2 separate regions of the Homo sapiens genome follow, and region 1 is linked to region 2. Evidence: promoter capture Hi-C in 16 types of primary human blood cells and fetal thymus (Javierre and others, 2016). All regions are on one chromosome and are shown on one strand. The core of a region is centred on a gene start or on the middle of the fragment in contact, and the rest is flanking DNA. Distances in the headings are between cores, read along the strand shown. Region 1 overlaps PIP4K2A (phosphatidylinositol-5-phosphate 4-kinase type 2 alpha). Region 2 holds the start of MIR1915HG (MIR1915 host gene).

Region 1 (6,910 bases), core at 610-3,109, 1.1 Mb after region 2:
CTAAAATGCACAGAGCCAAAATCTTTATAATATAGAGCCAAGTTTTTATTTTAGTCTGGATGGAAACTTTACTGGGAAGAAGAAATGCACCCAGTCACACTTGAGTGTCTAATGCAAACAGGATTTTGGCACTAGGTTTTAATGCAAAGGATAATACATATCATAGTACTCTGTGATTAAAGGACTTGTATTTCGGAATGAATTTTTTGTTTGATATGCTCATTTGGCAACCTATTTATTATTTTTTAAGTCTAATTGTAAGCCTCAATGTCAAAGACTGCTGCCGGGTGTCCTTTTGATACGCTGTCACTGTGACACTCAGAGCTGAATGCTCCACATAAAAAATACGTAGTAATTATTGTTTTATGTTAGAACTGCTTGTGTTCCTGATTTACTTGTAATTCCAAGCTCACCCAAATGAAAATAAACTTGCAAAAAAGAATAAAACCCCTTTTGCCGTGCTTGCAAAAATCTTCATAAAAATCAGCATCTATGGAACTGAAAACATAATTCACAAGTATTTCTATAAGGGAAGGAATTTTAGGTAATCCTTATGTTGGAGCTAGGATAAAAATAATTTGATGGAGTAACATATTTGGTATCAATTCTGGGGTAATAAGAGATGCTGGAGATTTATAATAAAATCAGTTCTGCTTCTTGGAACATCTAAGCCACAAATTTGATACATCAAAAGGCAAATTAGTGGATACGGATAAAGTTCATACAGAAGTAGCAAAGAAAAAGGGTGGTTTTGCACAAATAGTACATATGCCAACCTCCTTTAACTACATAAGCAGAATGTCTATACAAGTTCATGGTTTGAGAAATGATCTAAGAGGTCATTAATAACTTCTAATTTTCACAGTGAAAACAGTGAGAATGTGCACATCTGTGACTAGCATCCAGATGTGAACATCTTATAATTTTTATTTTGAATCTGTTTATGTATGAATGTGGAAAGAGAATATACCTCAACATACTTGTGAAACAGTGCTGTAAGTAAGCCGCGCAAAACTGGAGAAGCGTTAAGTTATAACTGTTAGGGCTGGCAAGACCTAGCTGTTGGCAATTTTCCCTCAAGCTAATACGTAAAAAGTAAAATTTATTCCTTTTTTAATACTGTCATATTTTATGACAACTCTATGTGGTAATGTCAAAGGTGACGGTTTGGTCTTCCTCCACAAACTGGGATATGACAGCTGAACTGCATACAAGACCTACAAAATAGGACCTACGGGATGGCTTCGTTCCAGTCGTAACAGAAGATTCTGGTGCGCAGATATCTATGGTGATAATCTAAGAAATGTCAAAGGCTGAACACTCAAGGAGTTTGCTAACTCCTCTAGATCTCTGGTTTAATACTACCATGTTAAAGATCATTATTTAATTAAGAATTACACATCTGTAGCAGCTTGGTTTAAATTCAGACCACATACTGAATTTTGGAAGTCTTCTCTCCACCCCAACTTTTTCTAGAACCAACTACGAGTTGTTAGCGTGAAAACATTCCCATACCTAACAGCAGTGCTCCACGTGTGCTTGGGATACTCTGAGTTGATTTCATTCCAGTGAGATAAAAATTAATCTGAGGCAAATGAGAGCTGATGAAGCACCATAAGCCATAAGTCATAAAGCCTTGAGGATTTTAATGCTGTCATCTGAGTGAAAATCTGGAAAGTGCTCACAAGAGTCACTGCATGTGATCCTCTCTTTTTGTCACGTGCCATGCTTACCAGTTACGAGATATTCTAAATGAAGCTTTAAAACTTCATTTCCAGAATACCCCTCATGGTTTATGGGGTTCTTATCTATATTTGCTGAACAGAACATTTTTTTCCCCATCAATCATAGCAATCACCTTAATCTATATCTGGAATAGAGAAGATTTTAGTGATGGTCAGGCCAGGACTTCTCCAAGTGGGGCCGACTGCTGAACCACATCTCTGGAGGAAGGTCCAGGAAAGCTTCATTTGAAACAAGAGATTCTCACCAACACTACAGCATGAGGAGCAATGACGCAAGCAAATCCTTTAATTTTACAAACGAGGACAAAGTCAGATGACCTATACTCAAACCCCATTAATGCAGCCCTGTGCCCCCAGGGCTGGGACTCAGATCCCCTAACCCTCTGTTTGGAGTCCTTCACCCAAATCTCCCTTTTATAAAATGTCTCTGGTCCAGAAGGTAGATGTTACTGGTGCCACCTTTAAGGTCTGAGAAAGAAGCCCTGCTTCTGCCCTAGTGGGAAACTTTCCCCTGCACTTTGGGTAGTAGGATTGGTGTCCCTAACTAACACTGGCTGGCAAAGGGAAATGATTCCCTTCTATCTCGGAAGAAAAGGAATTTTACAGAAGGCGGTTAAAGCATTAGCTGAATTGAGGGCCTAAAAAGCTTGACAACCCCCCTTTAACCGATGATCCGCCCACAGTGGAAAAAGAGGCACTTCTTAGCTGAGCGGCAAATAAAGATTTCCAGAAGGATACGCTGCTGTGCTTTTGTGTCACGTTTGGGGAGCCCGCCGCCCTGGCCACCTCACTTCAATGGCAGCCCAGATGACCAGATAGGGGTAGTAATTAATTATAATTTGTTACAATTTAAAGACCACAAAAGAAATGCTGAAAACTGGTTTCGAAAAGCATTTTTAGACGTAAGGGTATTAATGATTAATCCTCTCGAACCCTCAGTTGGTAATAGGTAAAACGTCGGAGACGGTGACAGTCACTTAATTGCTGGTGCAATTCACAGTGCCTGAGAATCGACAAGGCGGCTTTTTGTAGCCCATTATCAAAGTGTCAACAATGATTATTGCCAATACAGTTACACAAATGCCAATTGCAGGGCAGCTGTTTTCTTTCAAATGGGTTTCAGGAAGAAGGCTGTATGTTAAAAGGGATCTTCTTATTGTGACCCTATGGCTCCATTACACATACTTTACTTTACCTAATAAAATCAGACATGAGTTTTGAGAAGAACTGTGCAGGATGATGAACAAAATGCATATTTGTGTAAATCCCCAGGACTCTCTCTCTCAAGAACATGGGCTTTTTAAAGAGTCAGGTCAAATCCCCCAGAAATCAAGTGAGTCCAGTTATGTTTTCTTTTACTTCCCCAGGTCCCCTGCTGAGTCGCTCGCTAGCAGGCAGCATGCTAAGACTGTCATTTGTAAAAAGCAGCCCGCTCAGCTATAATTACTAATTTGATGTCACACTGGAATTGCAGCGCAGCTGTGAAAAGATCGACCACCAGGGAGGTTCACATTTCTCTGTCTCATTTAGAGGAGGCGAAACTGCTGGAGCCATGAATGGGAGATGCCCTTCCATTAAAAAGGAAAGAATTAAAGAATAAAACAAGTCATAGCAGCTGTCAGAATTTGACAATGGTTATTTTTTTTTAAAGCACTGTTCTGCTCTTAAAAAAAACCTCAAGACATCTGTACATGCATGTTCTGAGACTTGTTGCCATGAAAGTGATTCCATTGTTAGAATATAACTTATTTCCTTCAGTTCCATCTTCATGATTATGCTAATGCAAATCACACTAATTACATGTCAAGCTACAATCTAAGAAATGGGACTTGTCTGCACCTATAACGCTAAATATTTGAAATGACAGTTTCAAACTTGTCATCAACAAGTTAAAAGTATGGAAAACTAGAAGTTATAATGACTCATATGAAAGAAAACCTGGGAAGAATAAGAATTGAGATTACTAATTAAACTATGTCACCAGAGATTCTCTACGCAGTTTTTTTTTTTTTTTTTTTTTTTTTTCTGAGACAGGGTCTTGTTCTGTCACTGAGGCTGGAATGCAGTGGTGTGATCACGGCTCACTGCAGCATCGACATCCTGAGTTCAAGCAATCCTCCCATGTAGCTGGGGCCACAAGTGTGCACCACCATGCCCAGCTAATTTTTTGAATTGTTTGTAGAGTTGGGGGTCTCGCTATGTTTCCCAGGGTGGTCTTGAACTCCCGAGCTCAGGCTATCCTGTAGCCTCAGCCTCCCTAAAGTGCTGGGATTACAGGCGTGAGCCACCATGCCCAGCCCTCTAGAAAGATTGTTCTTTGTACCATAACGATCATTTGGAAAGGAATATAGTTATATATAATAGCAATGAATATAATATTCTTGCAAATCATTTCATTTATAAAAGGCTAAAATGTAGTAAGTGTTTTTAGCCTTCCCCAAATATTTCAAACCAGAGGTACCAGTAGATTGTTTTGATAGCATTTAGTAGACTGTTTTGATAGCATTTTCCCCCCCGATGTCTGATCATAAAAAGGAGTATTTATGATTTGTGAACACAATGAATGGTAGGCTTTTTGGAAGAGTCAAAAATCCTAACTGATCATGGAAAGAAAACCCAAAGGATGGCAGAAAAGGGAAAGCAAAGACTTTTTTTAAAAGTTAAAAAAACAAACAAACAATGTTTTTAAGAGTTCGGCTTGGCCGGGCGCGGTGGCTAATGCCTGTAATCCCAGCACTTTGGGAGGCCGAGGCGGGTGGATCACGAGGTCAGGGGATCGAGACCATCCTGGCTAACACGGTGAAACTCCGTCTCTACTAAAAATACAAAAAAATTAGCCAAGCGTAGTGACAGGCGCTTGTAGTCCCAGCTACTAGGGAGGCTGAGGCAGGAGAATGGCATGAACCCAGGAGGCGGAGCTTGCAGTGAGCTGAGATTGCACCACTGCACTCCAGCCTGGGTGACAGAGCGAGACTCCGTCTCGAAAAAAAACAAAACAGTTTGGCTCTATTAATACATTTCATTTCATCTATTACAGTTTAACAAACGTTTCTAGAGTCTACAAAACACTGCTGTATCAGAGAGAGAAGGCATGGCATGATCTCTACCGAGCCGTGAATGACGACTTTCCCCTGGGTTCGTTCTAGACGTGCTTCTCTTCTCGACACGCTCCTCCTGGGTGACCTCACCCACTTCCCTGTCTCTGCTGACCGTCCTTCCAGGGAGGATTCCCAAGCCCTTTGTTTTCAGCTAAGACACCCTGTGCACCCTCTCATGCCTATTGGATATCTCTGTTCTGACGCCACCCTGACATTTCAAATGCCTCCTCTCTCTCTAGTCTGGGTGATGTATCCCCAGGGAAATCGCTGGGGACGTGGTCGGTGACGGTGGGTGGGAGCCAGATTGCAGCAGGTGATGAAGTGAGGAGGAGAAAAGGAAATGGTGGATGTTTCTTTGGCCATTTGCCCTTTTACTGTGCATGAATGAAGGTACATTTTGATCTCTACCCTACTGTCAAGGCAGGCACACTCTCCATCATTTACCAATTTCTATGACTTTGACATTCCACATCTTCAAGCTATTTCCTTTTCCCCTTCCCAAGTGAGCATTTTTAATATAGAAGGGTGGGTGGGGTAGCTTTATGCAGCCTCTGTCTTCTGGAATAAGAGTTATTAGAAACCTCAACCACAAAAAGAAGGCTAGGGCACTGAATTCTTCCTCAGGGCAACTGTGCAGACAATTCTAATGTTTGCACAGTGTAAGACACGTGATAAAGACTGCATTAAACGTAAAAGTTTTACAAATATGTACATCTGAAAGTATGAGCGAAAATGCTCAAGCTCTTCAAATAGAGGAAATACAAATTGTTTTGCTAACATAGTATGGAAACAAATAATTTATTTCACTACTTTAGAAAAAAAATCAAGTTTTAGAATCAACTGTTTCAGCACCATATTTAACTCTGAAACAATGTTTTTGTCAATGTAGTTAACTTTTTCCTCATTTTCACAATGGGATTAACATGACTTTTTGATAATATGCCCTTAAAGGAAAGGAGAGACATGAACTCACAAACATTTACAAGGCAGTGTGGCATAGTGGTTAGAAATGTGCGCTCTGGGGCTGCTGATCCCAGGCTCAAACCCTGGCGCTGTCACTTCCTAACTGTAGGACCCTGGATGAAGTTACTAAACCTGTCAGTTAAGCAACTTCATCCACTCAAAGTAAGTAACGACAGCACCAATCTCATCTGGTGACTGTTAAGGATTACATGACATAATTCATGTACAATTTAAAACGGTCTGGCATATAGTTTGTACTCAACCAGTGCCAGTTGTGACTTCCTCTAAGCCTACCCCCTAGGGAGATGTTTGAAGGAATGATGGCTACGTGTTCATATTAGATACAGGATAAAAGCATCCTAGCAGAGTCCTAGAAAGATGAGTTCTCGGTCAAACAAATTCTATTATTCTCTTTTCATAGGAAGCTATACCAATAAAGGGACTAAACACTTTTTGGTGAGGAGGGCAGTGAACTGTGGTTCATGCCCTGGGTTTCTGGAAAGTGTGTTAAGTCCTATAGGTGCAACAGCGGAACGGAAGATAGGTAAGTGAATGTCCTGCTTTGCAGGAACCGTTACAGATACAGGAAGTCAAATACGTGTGGCTTTCCTCTCTGTGTGCCCTTGTTTTATGATTTAGGCCTCAGCAGCAACCACGCCATTAGCTGTAACTGTCCTTGTTGGCAGTGTTTACTGTCAGAGCAGGACCAAGCACTTGTTGACTGAACCTGAAGAAATCAAAATGAATGAAGGAAAAAAATCCTGCTAGTGGTAGTCCCAAGGAACTTTGGAAGAAAGTAAAAACAGACCCACCAACATGGGGCATCATGTGACTCAGGGGCTGGCCTGTCGTACGATGCTGAAGAGCATGTGTGACTCTGTACACACCCTGGCATTTCCTCTGAGGAGAAAATCTCAACAAAATTTAGCCTCTGAGCTTCTCATGGGCTAAAACTGAAATACCTGCTGAGTCTTCAGTACCTGGAAGAAACATTCACTCATGGCAGCATGGAAGTCGACAGTCACTGTTTCTGCCTCTTCTGGCCAAAGCCAGTGCCTTAGAGGGGGTTTAGGCGAAGGTTGAATTCTCAAAATGTACATTCAC
Region 2 (6,844 bases), core at 1,124-3,623:
CTGCGCGCCCCAGGTCCGCAGGCCGCCTCCCTTCCCTCGCGCCCTCGCACCCGCCCTCTGCTCTGCCGCTCCCGGTCCTGGGTGTGCGGGAGTCCCGGGGGTCCCTCTCCTGGACGCAGAGGAGGAATTTGGAGCAAAAGGAAGGGAATTTACTGCGGATGGCACCGGAACCTGAATTGACTTGTGCGTTTCCTGCTCTGGGCACGTAGGTTTCCCCTAGGAATCTGGAGTTCGCTGAGGACACTTAATTCCAAGAGATGATGGGTTCACATAAACATACCATTTAGTTAAGAAAAATATTTAAAATAAAGAAAAAAGAAAAACTGAACTTCGATCTTCTTCTCCACGTTCCCTGGTGTCACCAAATAAACAAAGCATTCGGACGAGAGTGGGCTGCTGGGGGCTCGGGAGGTGCGCGAGACAAGGTTACCCTGCGGGTCCGCCACTGCCCCCGGCCTCCAGCACTGCACTGCCCACGAGTTTGCGGGGTGTGAGCGCCGAAGGAGAACCCCGGACCGCCCAGTCTCAGCCTAAAAACTTGGATCCAAGAGTCCTACGGTTGTGGATGTGCCAGTCCTCCGCGACCCTTTCCTGCTGGCCTTCTGCTTTTTATAAACGAAAATAAAAGTTTGATTTAGGCTTAAAGAAATGTCATTCTGGTCGTTCCTCCCTGAAGCGGGACTTACTCAACCTCATATACTCGCCCGGAATTTTCAATCTCGCCTGTCGAAATCGCTAGCTGCGCATCCGCGGAAGAAGTCCTGGATGAGAGGTAGGGTGAAGGGATCAAGCAGATAGCAGCAGGCATCAGCACACTCCGGCCGTTCCGGACGGTCAGGCCCGCCGCTACAGGGAGAAGTGCGGCGGATGGAGCCAGGGCTGCGGGTTGCGCGCGGGCTGGGAACCCGGTGGTGCCACCTTAAGAGTCGGGTCCGCGCAGCGGCTGCGGAGGCGCCCGGCACCTGCAGGGGGCGCTGCTGCCCCGTGGTTTCTCCCGCGCCGCCGCGTGCAGCGGGCCTGGCAGCTCCGGGGCCCCGGTCCCCGGAGGGGGTGGGGACGCTGGGGGAGGAAGGGAGCGAAGTGCAGCCGTTAGGTAACGAACCCGAACCCTCCCGGATTCAGAAGCGGCCTCAGTGAGGCGTTTGCTGGAGGGAGCTTTCCATCATTCGGCCGCGAGAGGAAACGTGGGGAGGCGCCCTCCCCTGCCCCCACCGCCTGCCTTCCTGCCTCCCTCCACCTCCGCTCCCCGACCCCGACCGTGCTTCCCAGACCCTTTGTTCTCGAGGTTGGGAACGGCTGGGTGGGGGTTCCCCGGGGAAGAGGTCCCCCGCGCCGCTCGGAGGGGAAGGGACTGTCGCCTGCCCCGCACCCCAGCCCTCCCCAGTGCCGTCCCCCTTTCCCCCGGCCCCTTCCATCGCGTCCACGCGCTTCCGTTCTCACTCGGACTCCCCCAACTCCCGAGCTCCGGCTCCCCAGCCTGCACGGTCTGCAAGCCCGCCTCCCTTCCCACTTCCCCGCCACCTCTGAGGTCCCCGGGAAGAGGGGAGGAGAGGGAGACGTGTGGGGGAGGAGAAACCACAGAGCCTTCTCGGCGCGGAGCATTCCCAGGGACCCTTCCAGGCCCCGACCCCTGGGACCCGCTGCAGAGGCAGGGCTTTCCCGGCGCCGCCGCAGGTCGCTAGGGCCGCCCCCGCCGCGTCGCCCTGGGGCCCACGGGTGCACGGCCCGGGCAGCAAGGCAAGGTGCGGCCTCTCAGCGCCAGGACCCGAGACCCCCAGCTGGAGAGAAGGGGACACCGTGGTCCGCGCCCTGGGGAGGCTAATTGCACACGAACGCCCCCCTCTTCCCCGCCCCCCACCGTACCCTCTGCAGCGCCACCCGCGTCGCCTCTCCGCCGTGCGCCACCCTGAGGGCTCCCGCGATTGCATCTTCTTGAGCACAGTTACCAATGCGTTCAGCTTCGTTTCTTACTCGGATGGAGACATCGCGGAGGGAAGCGAGGGGACAGGGATGCGGTAGTAGGGGAAAGGTGGGGCGGGAAACCGAGCAGAGAGGTGGGAGACTTGGCTGAGGCAATGGCACCAGGCAGGGCCGCCCGGAGTCCCGAGTCCAGGTCCGCGAGGCAGGCCCCGGTGCAGCCGCGCCCCGGCCGAACCCTACATGTCCTCTGTACTGTGGACACGAGTCCGCGGAGCGCCAGTCACACCCCCGCACCCCTGCAAGCTCCCGCCGTAGAGGGGGCTCGGCACCATCCTGGTCACAAAGTACGTGCCCCCACCCCCCACCCCCAGGTGAAGAGGACGCAGCCCGGCGCCGTCAGCTCCAGGCTGCCTGGAGCCCCCTCCGGCCTCTCGGCGCGACCCTGGTCCTCAATGGCTCGTCGCGAGCTGCGCTAGCTGCTCTCTCGGCAGCGGGTTCCCCAGGACACACCCAGTCCCCACCCCCCGAGAGCTGGCGGCCAGCTCAGGATGCCAGGCGGCCAGGCGGGCGCCCTGCCAAATTCCGCGTTCCTCTCCAGGAGACGGGGAGTTGCGTCCCAGGCTCGGGAAAGCCCGCAGTTCGGGCTTGGGACTCGCTTACAAAGCCCCCCAAGGCGCCAGGGACGCCTCTGCAGGTTGAATTCCTGCTCCGTATCACTTCAATTTTAATTAATCTTTTAAAACACCGCTGTCACGTCGCTTGCAGAAAATTAATCAAACTTGAATCCTTGTTGCATAGCAAGAATTTCGATCCGAGTCTTTTAAAAAGGACTTGACTTTGCAAAGTCACGTCTTTTACAGTTCCCTCATTCCCCCTTTAGCAAGGGAAATACTGCAAAAGTCAAGACATGTTTGTTTGGTTCTTTCTATCTTCAAAATGAAACTTTGCTTATTTCTGATCTTTATTTTCCTGTCTTTGAACAAAAAAAAATAACGAGATAAATTGCCTACCTCGATTAATTCAAAGTATAATTACTTTGAATGATCTTTGTTTAAGAGCCCAGATAAACTAAGATAATCTTAATTTTAATGTGACACGACCCCTATTTTTCCTTGTGAATAATGAGAATAAAGCAGTCATTAATTAATACCAAGATATCTCCATAGAAGATGGTATCTGTTCTCGCTGAGACACTGAAACATCAGTTGTATTAGTAATTGATACTGTATAATTGAACATGAAGATAGCCGTCTATTTTTAACCTCCAAGCTCAGAGTTTATTTGGTGATTATTGAGCTCCTAATAATTAATTTTTTTCCTTCTTACTGCATAAATAATTCTTACGACTCCCAGTTCCCATGCAATGCAGAGGCTTCTCATTAAAACCTACCCCTCAAAATATAAGATTGTGAAGCTATATTGTGCAGCAACTCCTTCTATTTCATTATTTGTAACATATTTCCTCTATTTCATATCTTCCTGGTGCATTTCCTTTGCTGTGATTTTCCTACTAAATCTATGAGAATATAACTATAACATCTTTTACCATAGCTTTGTCTTTCTGTGATCTCTTGGTTCAGTTTAATACACAATACTTAAGACTTCAATTTTTCAAGTTACTAAAATTTGAGGATGAGTTCCACTGAAGAATCAAAAATACTTGTATAGTGAAGTTGCCATGGATTATATTCCCAACCTAACACACAGTCCACTTTAACTCACACTTTTCTGTTGTTAAAAATAGACTTTGCTCAAACACATTCCCTTTTTCCAACTTGAGTTGAAGAGAGTTCTCACAATTTCCTGGGTTAAATGTACATGCTAACACAACCTTTGACATTAAAAAACAAATTCCCCTCCCGCGTTGGAGAGAAGTCTTCCAAACAGTCATGGAAATTTAGACTGTAGCTTTAAGGTATCTAATTATTTCTTAGCCTCAGTTATTTTGGGGCATCAGAATGATCTTCACTTTTTAAGTGGAAATGGTTATGATATTTTTCTCATACATACAAAAAACTCTCTACTTATTTTTCCAATAAAGTGTCTCCCAAGTATGACATGTTGTATACCACACAAATATTCTTAGTACCTCCGCTACCAAATCCATGCATTTTCCCTGTCAGTGCTCTATCTAAAATTCTGGAAAGTATAGAGGGTTTCCACTTTTATTTCCCCCTTAGTACAATTAAAACTTTAGGTCAATATATAACGGAGTGATTCTCTGCACTTGGATTTTATATTTTCCCACTATAATTTGGACTGGAATGGGATTAAAACAGCATCTAGAGTTCTAATCTTGGTTGATGTTTTGGTGTATTCACCGTAATGAGTCCTATTCTCTGGGGTCATGAAGCTCCCAAATGTCAATCAAGCAAACAGATTCAGAAATGCCATTGTTCGACTCCCACGTCACTCGCCTTCCTCTCATTTTATTTAACAATACCGGAGTTCTCTGATCAGTCATTCGGAATATGAGGCATTATCTGGGGAAAATTCACAAAGTGTCTTGATCTTTCTTTGGGAGATACTGTTAAGGGGTTTCCGCAAAGCATAAAGTGCTTGTTTATATTTCTGTCTTTGGACCGCACTGTGGATGGAAAGAACCAATGAATACTGCTTGAAAGGAAATCATACCGTAAATCCGTCAAAAATTAATTCGTCCAGTTGAATGTTACATTTCTATTTTCTGTTTTCGTGTTGGAAGCACCCTGATTTGTCACCAGAGGAGAAGTATGACCAGGTCTGGGTCCAGTTGACATGCCCCCACGTTCAACCCTGTCTATTTTCACCACTTAATACTATTAATGTGTTTAGTCTAAACTAGTTAACTAAGAATTTATTTGGGGGCGAGGAAGAGCCAACCTTTGCCCTGGGAGTTCTACCCAGCCCACTCAGCTACGTCCGGGAGCCTCCGCAACTCGCATTTCCCAGTCGCAACCCTGGGTCATTCCTGCCTCCGTCCCAGCTCCCGGACAATTCCCAAAGCCAAAGGCGTCGAGCGTGTTACTGGCTCCCACCAGCCCAAATTAATAATCAGCTTAACTCGTGGAGGCTTTGAGCCCCAGTGCTCCGTTCCCTGAAGCCTCCCAGTGCGGAGCCCGGCTCCTGCGAGGACATCCTTGGAGGGGGGCCGGGGCGCAGGGACGGATTTCCTGGGAAAAATTGTCGCTGGCGTGTTGCACCTAGAGGGCTGTGGGCAAGGAGGCACGCACCAATGTCCCAGTTCTGGGCTCTCAGATCGGGATTCCTCCAAAATCGCGACAGCCGCTCAGGTGCTGGGTGCTCACGTTGGCAGCACAGAGCGCCAAATGCACGACCCCGCGCGCCGCGCGCGACCTCCACGCACACTTAGAGCCGAGGTGACAAGGGAAGGCGGCGGGGGTGGAGCCGCTCTCTGGTGGAGCATGATCAATCACTTTAAAGGGTTCAAAAGTTCCAAGTTCCCCTTTGGAGGGGAGAGGTAATGCTTCCCGCGGCCTGCTTCTCTCTGAGACCCGCGGGTTCCCGGCAGCCGCGCAACCACTGGGGATCTCGGCTGCCGCTTGCGGGAGCCCCTTCCGGGGAACACGCTCTCCGGGCCGCGCAGCCGGGCGAGGTTGACGCAGCTGCTAGGGGGCAGTTTGGCTTCCCCGGGAGTACCGGAGTCGCTCGGCAAAAACGTGATCTCAGCCTGCAGGGCCCGGGGCGCGCGCTTTTCCCTTTCTCAGCAAGCGGGAAAGGCCTGTTGGCAGAGGCCGGCGGAGTGCTGGCGGCCTGGCGGCTGGAGGCTTCGGCGGAAACCTGAGCTCCCTGCGACCTGTTCTGCTAGCAGGGGCGGGGGAGAGCCCCAATAAGCCGCCCCAGAGGCGGACCGTGCAAATTCCTAAGAAAAAGCCCTCTAGAAAACACCAAGCCCTTCCAAAAGCCGTGGCTCTGCCCCTCCCCCGTCCTGCGGCCTTCCATCCTGGCCCCTCGCATCACCCAGCCGGCCCTCACCTGCTACCTGGCCAAGGGCCTAGCCACCCCTCTGCGTCCCCGCCCCTGCTTTTAAGCTCCTTCTCCCCCTGACCTTTCTGAGGCCTGGGCGAGGGTAGCCAGGGTGCTGCAGAGGAAATGAAATTGTTCTGGAGATTACAGTGGGGCTTTGGGCCAGAAGGGTTTTTCCCCTTCTTTTTCTCAAGCTTCCATGTTAAGTGCAAACTTGTATCTCCCGTCACAAGAATAGCCAAATTTTCTCGCTTATTTGCAGTTTTGCAAAGTTCTACACACAGATCAGTGAACCTTAAGCGCCCTTGTTCAGCCCCACATTGTGGAGGTTTGTCAGGGTCCCTGGGCAGTGAGCGTAATGACAGGTGAATCCAGCAGCCCCAGGGGGAGCCCGACCTAACCCCAGGACTTACAATAGGCCAGGGGGCCAGAGGCTCCCCACACAGCTTCCAGCAACAGGTACTCTACACCAGGGCAGGCCTACAGGGTCCTTCGGCTTAGGCACTGCCCCTAGAAACTGCTTCAGTGACCTGGGACAGAGAGGCCCCACCCACATGTCTTCCCCCAAGGAGATTCCTTCTCTCCAAATTACCCCTCGGTCACACAAGAACAAGAATCTCTGCGCTCTGTGCCACCTGTCCAGACACAGCCAGGCCTTGTTTCAGCTGCAGCAGAGGCCCTCACAATGTAAGCCCATTGGTGCTTTCAACCTGCTTGTTCTTCTGACATGATTTAAAATAAAGAAGAGGAGGAGGAGGGAAGGCAGAAGAAGAAGCAGGGAAGAGGAGGATGGGGGGTGGGGAGGAAGAGGAGCAGGGGAGATGCAGAATAAAAGATGGCCAAAGGGGATCAGCACAAAATGGAACAACTCCTTTCTTATCCAAATTGCCCCATAACTCAGTCTTTCCCACACTCTAAAAGAGGGATAACTGGTTTCAATAACTATTAATACTTTCTC

Evidence for each region. Contacts are between HindIII fragments. The CHiCAGO score rates a contact against its expected background, and 5 or more counts as called.
Region 1: a fragment that was not itself captured here is called in contact with the fragment with the promoter of MIR1915HG in region 2 in 1 of 17 cell types (total B cells); the score reaches 6.0 in total B cells.

The regions. Positions count from the first base shown.
Region 1 is chr10:22,557,822-22,564,731 of GRCh38, forward strand. All of the region lies in intron 6 of PIP4K2A (phosphatidylinositol-5-phosphate 4-kinase type 2 alpha), which reads right to left. It also overlaps the pseudogene TRP-GGG1-1. Among named protein-coding and RNA genes, the nearest start is that of LINC03027, 120 kb to the left of the region's middle. The HindIII fragment of the contact is 206 bases long and covers 1,757-1,962 here.
Region 2 is chr10:21,494,887-21,501,730 of GRCh38, forward strand. It overlaps MIR1915HG (MIR1915 host gene), which reads right to left and starts at 2,374. Exons shown (of 2, transcript NR_160800.1): 1 at 1,864-2,374; 2 at 1-1,059. MIR1915 (microRNA 1915) reads right to left here and starts at 1,755; the gene lies at 1,676-1,755. RefSeq lists an enhancer at 1-430 and silencers at 1-41, 855-1,294, 1,345-1,394, 1,605-1,854. The HindIII fragment of the contact is 8,649 bases long and covers 1-6,078 here.